Regions from separate parts of the Homo sapiens genome. Here region 1 is linked to region 2. Evidence: promoter capture Hi-C in 16 types of primary human blood cells and fetal thymus (Javierre and others, 2016). All regions are on one chromosome and are shown on one strand. The core of a region is centred on a gene start or on the middle of the fragment in contact, and the rest is flanking DNA. Distances in the headings are between cores, read along the strand shown. Region 1 overlaps BTN1A1 (butyrophilin subfamily 1 member A1). Region 2 holds the start of H4C6 (H4 clustered histone 6).

Region 1 (3,472 bases), core at 347-2,846, 260 kb after region 2:
AGACTTGCAGCTTATCTGCCTTATCTCTTTGTTTTCCCCTGATTAGGACTCCACAGCTAGAAGGTACTGAAGGTCCTACAGTAGGAAATCAGTGAGAAAGGGTTTTGAGTTGAACATGGAGAGAACAGTGCAATGTCTTTATTGTAGAACTTTATTTCAATTATCTCCAGCCCTTTTTCAATAATAGGGTAAGCATTTCTTCATGAAATAATTAAATACATATAAGAGTTATATAACATTCTTTTATACAAGTACACCATAATTTACTTCATCGAGTCCCTGAATTGTACATTTAAATTGTATTTCTCACCATTACACATCTTATGGCTGTGGTGAGCATACCACACACTTTAAGGCTGGCTTATGGATTAGTTTCTAAAGACTGACATCCTAAGATTAGAGAGCATGGCGGTTTGTCACATTCCTGATTCATATAGAAAAGATTCTGTTCTTGTTCCCTTTTTTGCTTCAAGCCAGAATTCAAAGGGAAACAATAAAGAAAATAATAAGCTTTGAGGAGGAAAGTACGCATTGAGGTCTGACTTTCTCAATTCCTAGTGAATGACATCAAGCAAATCTCTTTCTGATTTTTACTGTAAAACTGAGGATGTTTTTATCTAAGATTATTTTTCAAGAATAAAATAGTCTGGGACCAGTGGCCAACTCCTATAATCTCAGCGCTTTGGGAAGCAGAGGCAGGAGGATCTCTTGAGCCAAGAAATTCAAGGTTACAGTAAGCTGATGGTTGCCACTGCACTCCAGCCTGGACAATAGAGTGTGCTGTCAAAAAAAGAAAAAAAAAAAGTGGGATGTGGTGTCTCACGCCTGTAATCCCAGCATTTTGGGAGGCCAAGGCGGGTGACTCACTTTTGATCAGGATATTCAAGACCAGCCTGGCCAACATGGCAAAACCCCATCTCTACTAAAAATACAAAAAGAAATTAGCTGGGTCATACCTGTAATCCCAGCTACTCAAGGAAAATCGCTTGAACCTGGGAGGCAGAGGTTGCAGTGAGCTGAGACTGCACTACTGCACTCCAGCCTGGGCAACAGAGTGAGACTCGTCTCTAACAAAAAAAAAAAGAATAAAATAAAATTAGACAATATATGAGAAATGACCTCGCCAATTCTAAAAACATTATAGACTTATTAGATACTATACTGTGCCTTAAACTGATCTAAAACATATAATATACAAACATATTGCCTTTCACATATATATCATATATGTATATATTATCTAAATCTATATGCATATATTATATATATATATACATAGATATATATTCAAGTAAATATAAAGTTTGAAAAATACTTGGGTGAAATGTGGGTCCCTGCTTCACAACAGGGTCCCCCAGTTGCAGCATCATGTATAATTCAAATTTTGACATTTTGTTTTTAGGGAAGAAGTATCTTAAAGCTTGATTATAAAAACATAGAAATTTGATGGCATAAAATGTGTTACCTTTTATGAGTGGCAGACACCCTTGAGAATCTGCTGAAAGTGGCAGCTCCTTCCATGAAAAGAATATATATTCTTGTATATACACACATTCTTGGAATGTGGATTTTAACCAGTGGTTGTGGAAATGTGTTTAAGAGCTCTTTTATGCAGCTCAGTGTTTTTCTGTACCATGTGGAATTACAGAAAAAAATAGGCTAAACACACAAGAAAAGCAGCTTTATGTTTATATATAACAGGCCACAATTATGTGAGGGAATATGAAGTTGAGACCATTTAAGAAAATTTCTGAATCAACATCATAGATAAAGAAAGCTTAAATTGTCAACTATAATCTCAAGCCAAAGAATCGCCAATCCTCTCCTCAAGGATATTCCTCTGTTCATCCTTAAATACCCAGTCCTATTTCTCCTCCTCCCCACCAAAGTCTTCTCATAATGCTCTCAGCCTAGACCACTAACCCACCTCTGAGTTATTGGTCTTAGTGTTCCTGCTGGCTGGACAAGCACCCCCAAGTCTGCCCACCAAACTGCTGCAAACATTTCAAAGGCTTGATCCCAACAAGGCATCCTTCTCTGATAAGGTATATGAAATTCCTTTTATTGGTACTTCAATTTCCTTTAAAAAAAAAAAAAAACTTTTTTAGAAACAGCATTTCACTCTGTCACCCAGGCTGGAGTGCAGTGGTGCCATCACAGCTCACTGCAGCCTTGAACTCCTGAACTCAAGCAATCCTCCAACCTCAGCCTCCCAAGTAGCTAGGAATACAGGCAAGAACCACCATGCCCAAAGAGATGGGGTCTCATTGTGTTGCCCAGGCTGGTCTTGATCTCCTGGACTCAAGTAATCCTGCCTCAGCCTCCCAAAGTGCTGACATTACAGACATAAACCACTGTGCCTGGCCCTCAGTTTCCTTGTATATTGAAATATGGAGATGAGTTCTTCCCCCTACTAGTCCACTTGTGCCTTTCTGTCTCTCTCTTTCTCAAACTATGTAGCTCTCTGGTTATAAGGCTCCCAAAAGGGGTCCGCTAAAACATTAAGTCCAGATTCTCTCTCCATAGCTCTGGGCTCTGACCCTCACATCAGTATGCAAGTTCAAGAGAATGGAGAAATCTGTCTGGAGTGCACCTCAGTGGGATGGTACCCAGAGCCCCAGGTGCAGTGGAGAACTTCCAAGGGAGAGAAGTTTCCATCTACATCAGAGTCCAGGAATCCTGATGAAGAAGGTTTGTTCACTGTGGCTGCTTCAGTGATCATCAGAGACACTTCTGCGAAAAATGTGTCCTGCTACATCCAGAATCTCCTTCTTGGCCAGGAGAAGAAAGTAGAAATATCCATACCAGGTTAGTGGAACCAATGCTGCTGGATTCCTATGTTGACACAGCTTCAGAGCCACACCACCTGGGACACCTGCCCAGATGTGACCTCATGGCAGAGTTGTCTACTTTCCCCACCTAAGCTCTTTTCCAGTGACTTAAGGGAACCCCACCAACTTTATTAGAAGAGTTAAGATACTGAAGACATAAACCTACCTTGATCTCAAATAAATTTCAGATTATTTATCTATTTATTTTTTGAGACAGTGTCTCACTCTGTTGCCTAGACTGGAGTGCAGCAGCAGAATGATCTCAGCTCACTGCAAGCTCCGCTTCCCAGGTTCAAGCGATTCTCCTGCCTCAGCCTCCAGAATAGCTGGGACGACAAGTGCACACCACCGTGCCCAACTAATTTTGTGTATTTTTAGCGAAGGCAGGGTTTCACCATGTTCCCCAGGCTGGTCTTGAACTTCTGGCCTCAAGCAATCCACCTGCCTCGGCCTCCCAAAGTGCTGGGATTATAGGTGTGAGCCATCACACCCAGTGAAATTCCAGATTTTCCATTTCAGGAGATCTAAGTGAGATAGAGAAGCTTTGTCCCTGGAGGCCTTCCTGATCCAGAGCCTTCTCTCCTCAAGTAAACAAAAAGACTAAGTTGGCCGGGCGTGGTGGCTCACGCCTGTAATCCCAG
Region 2 (3,191 bases), core at 360-2,859:
ATCCTTGTGTCTATTCCTACAGGTAACTGAACCTAAGCCAAAATTTAAGTAGACTCTTAACTCCACAAAATGAATAATCTTCTCACTGCTTTTAGGCACCAGCAGAGACGGGATTTTTAAGTTACCCTTGCAGTATATAGGAGGCAATGAATGTGAAGCAGTAGACTGTAAGAGTTAATGTTGAATTTTTCTACTACACATACCCTATGATCTGTGTGTAGAACACTTCTTCCGGAATCTTTTATTAGGACAGTATTTCACAGAATTTATTAGTATTATTTTTGTTAATTTACAAACCTTTATTCACCATGATTTACCATGTATGCTTTAGTGGCATGAAAGCAGTGGTAGGTAGCAAGGTAGTGAGACTCCAGAATCGAGCCAACAATACAATGCCATTTATTAGAGGATAATGTCTTCAAGCCTGGGATTCCTTATCTTTACACCTCAGATATTGCATTATACATTGAAAAACTAAGAATGAAACTTCAATTAATATTGGTTTCCCTTACTAGAGGTCTTTCTTTATTAGGAATGCCAAAAACGATGTGAATGTATATGTCTCTGCCAAACGCTAAGTCTCATGATTGGCCAAATTTAAGAAGTATTGCTACATTTTAAGAATTAATAAAAATGGCCGGGCGTGGTGGCTCACGCCAGTAATCCCAGCACTTTGTGAGGCCAAGGTGGGTGGATCACCTGAAGTCAGGAGTTCGAGACCACCCTGGCCAACATGGCGAAACCCCGTCTTTACTAAGAAAATACAAAAATTACCCAGGTGTGGCGACGCGTGCCTGAAATCACAGCTACTCGTGAGGCTGAGGCATGAGAATCGCTTGAACCCAGAAGGCGGAGGTTGCAGTGAGCCGAGATAGCGCCACTGCACTCCAGCCTGGGCAACAGAGTGAGACCCCGTATCAAAAAAAAAAAATTAGTAAAAATACATTTTCAAAGAATCTTCACATTTAAAAATTAAAGCTAGGCGCCTGTAATCCCAGAACTTTGGGAGGCCGAGGCGGGTGGATCACCTGAGGTCAGGAGTTCGAGACCAGCCTAGTCAACATGGCGAAACCCCATCTCTACTAAAAATACAAAAATTAGCCGGGCGTGGTGACGCGCGCCTGTAGTTGCAGCTACTGCAGGGGCTGAGGCAGAAGAATCGCTCGAACCCGAGAGGCGGAGGTTGCAGTGAGCCGAGATCACGCCACTGCACTCCAGTCTGGGGCAGAGCAAAACTGTTTCAAAAGAAATAATAATTTTATTCTCTTGTCTATCCATTCGGTAGACAAGTGTAGCGTTACTGCCTCCTTTTTGCAAATAATAAGGATTTTAGGAGACAGACATTATCAGTTCGAGAGCCCACAGGCACTGGACTAGAAGACACAGAAACCTACACTCAAGACCCAAACAAGGAAACAGGAAGGAGTCAAATCAACTTGCATTTCCCCTACCCTCACCGCCCCCTTTCCTTCCCAAGGCAATAGTGTAGGGGACGCCCAGTAAGTTACGGAAAAGGCGGAGACAGAGGTTTCGTTCCCGCCCCTCCAATTCAGTCTCCAAAAAGGTCCGCATAATTGATATATAAGGGGCTTCAGTGTGTAGCAAAGTTGCAAAAGTTAAGAGTTGTTGTTTGTCTTCGATCATGTCTGGTAGAGGCAAAGGTGGTAAAGGTTTAGGAAAGGGAGGCGCCAAGCGCCATCGCAAAGTGCTGCGTGACAACATACAGGGCATCACGAAGCCCGCCATCCGTCGCTTGGCCCGACGCGGCGGCGTGAAACGCATTTCGGGCCTCATTTATGAGGAGACCCGCGGTGTTCTTAAGGTGTTCCTGGAGAATGTGATACGGGACGCCGTAACCTACACGGAGCACGCCAAGCGTAAGACAGTCACTGCAATGGATGTTGTCTACGCGCTCAAGCGCCAGGGACGCACTCTGTACGGCTTTGGTGGCTGAGCCTCACCCCGGCTTTTTATTTAACAGCTCACCCATAAAAGGCCCTTTTCAGGGCCACCTCCTTCGTCACACGAAGGGCTGTAACTGATGACGACTTGGGTTTCGTTTTGTAAATTTGGGATTCTAACTGAGTTAAACCGAGCCGTTTTTAGCGATCTTCCTAAGATGGCGGATGTGCTAAGGAGAAAGGGAAGGCGAAACATTAGAAACTTGTTCAGGTATTTCGATCGCAAACATTCACAGGAAAAGATGGTGGAAATGGTTTGGGAATACCAGCAGCCTTTTATGACGTATGTGATGTGTTTTATTCCCACGTTTCTGAAATTTACTCCTATGTTAGGTGGCTGGGACTTAACTACACTAGCATTACATGTTTAGTTTTTGAGATGGAGTTGCTCTTGTCCAGGCTGTAGTGCAATGACGCAATCTCGGCTCACCGCAACCACCCCCTCCCGGGTTTAAGCGGTTCTCCTGACTCAACCTCCCGAGTAACTGGGGTTACAGGCATGCGCCACCACGCTTGGCTAATTTTTTATTTTTAGTACAGAAGGGGCTTTTCTGTGTTGGTCTGGCTGGTCTCGAACTCCCGACCTCAGGTGATCCGCCCTTCTTGGCCTCCCAAAGTGCAGGGATTGCAGGCGTGAGCCACCGTGCCCGGCCTTAGTGTTATTTATTAGGCATAGAACGTGAGTAATCTTAGGGCGGCTGTGGACAGATCAATTACTGGTAAACTTAATCCACTACTTGTGTCCGGGCGCGGTGCCTCAGGCCTGAATCACAGCACCTTGGGAGACCACGGCGGGCGGATTACTAGAGCTCAGGAGTTCGAGACTAGCCTGGGCAACCAAAATGGTGAAACTCCGTCTCAACTAAAAAAGTTAAATAGGAAAGTTAGCCCGGCGTTGTGGCGGACGCCTGCTGTCGCAGCTAATCTGCAAGGGCTGAGGCAGGAGAATCGCTTGAGCACGGGAGGCGGAGATTTCAGTGAGCTGAGATGGTGCCACTCCACTCCTGCCTGGGCGACAGAGACCATGCCTCAAAAAAAAAAAAAAAAAAGTAAAGTTTGGCCGGGCTCGGTGGCTCATGTCTGCAATCCCATCTGTAATTCCAGCAGCTTGGGAGGCCGAGGTGGGTGGATCACTTGAGCTCAACGAGTTCGAGACCAGCCTGGCTAGCACTGCAAAACCTCGTCTCTACTAAAAATACAAAAATTAGACGTAGACGTGGTGACACGCGC

Evidence for each region. The method cuts DNA at HindIII sites, captures the fragments that hold promoters and counts their contacts. A CHiCAGO score of 5 or more calls a contact.
Region 1: a contact is called between a fragment that was not itself captured here and the fragment with the promoter of H4C6 in region 2, in 1 of 17 cell types (monocytes). The highest score is 5.0, in monocytes.

What each region holds. Positions count from the first base shown.
Region 1 is chr6:26,502,399-26,505,870 of GRCh38, forward strand. It overlaps BTN1A1 (butyrophilin subfamily 1 member A1), which reads left to right. Exons shown (of 8, transcript NM_001732.3): 4 at 2,527-2,808. The region is part of intron 1 of LOC107986583 (a long non-coding RNA gene); the gene reads right to left. Among named protein-coding and RNA genes, the nearest start is that of BTN1A1, 3.8 kb to the left of the region's middle. The HindIII fragment of the contact is 357 bases long and covers 1,419-1,775 here.
Region 2 is chr6:26,238,784-26,241,974 of GRCh38, forward strand. H4C6 (H4 clustered histone 6) reads left to right here and starts at 1,610. Exons shown (of 1, transcript NM_003540.4): 1 at 1,610-2,010. The coding sequence starts at 1,643. The coding sequence ends at 1,954. RefSeq lists enhancers at 1,237-1,336, 1,797-1,846. The HindIII fragment of the contact is 5,393 bases long and covers 1-3,191 here.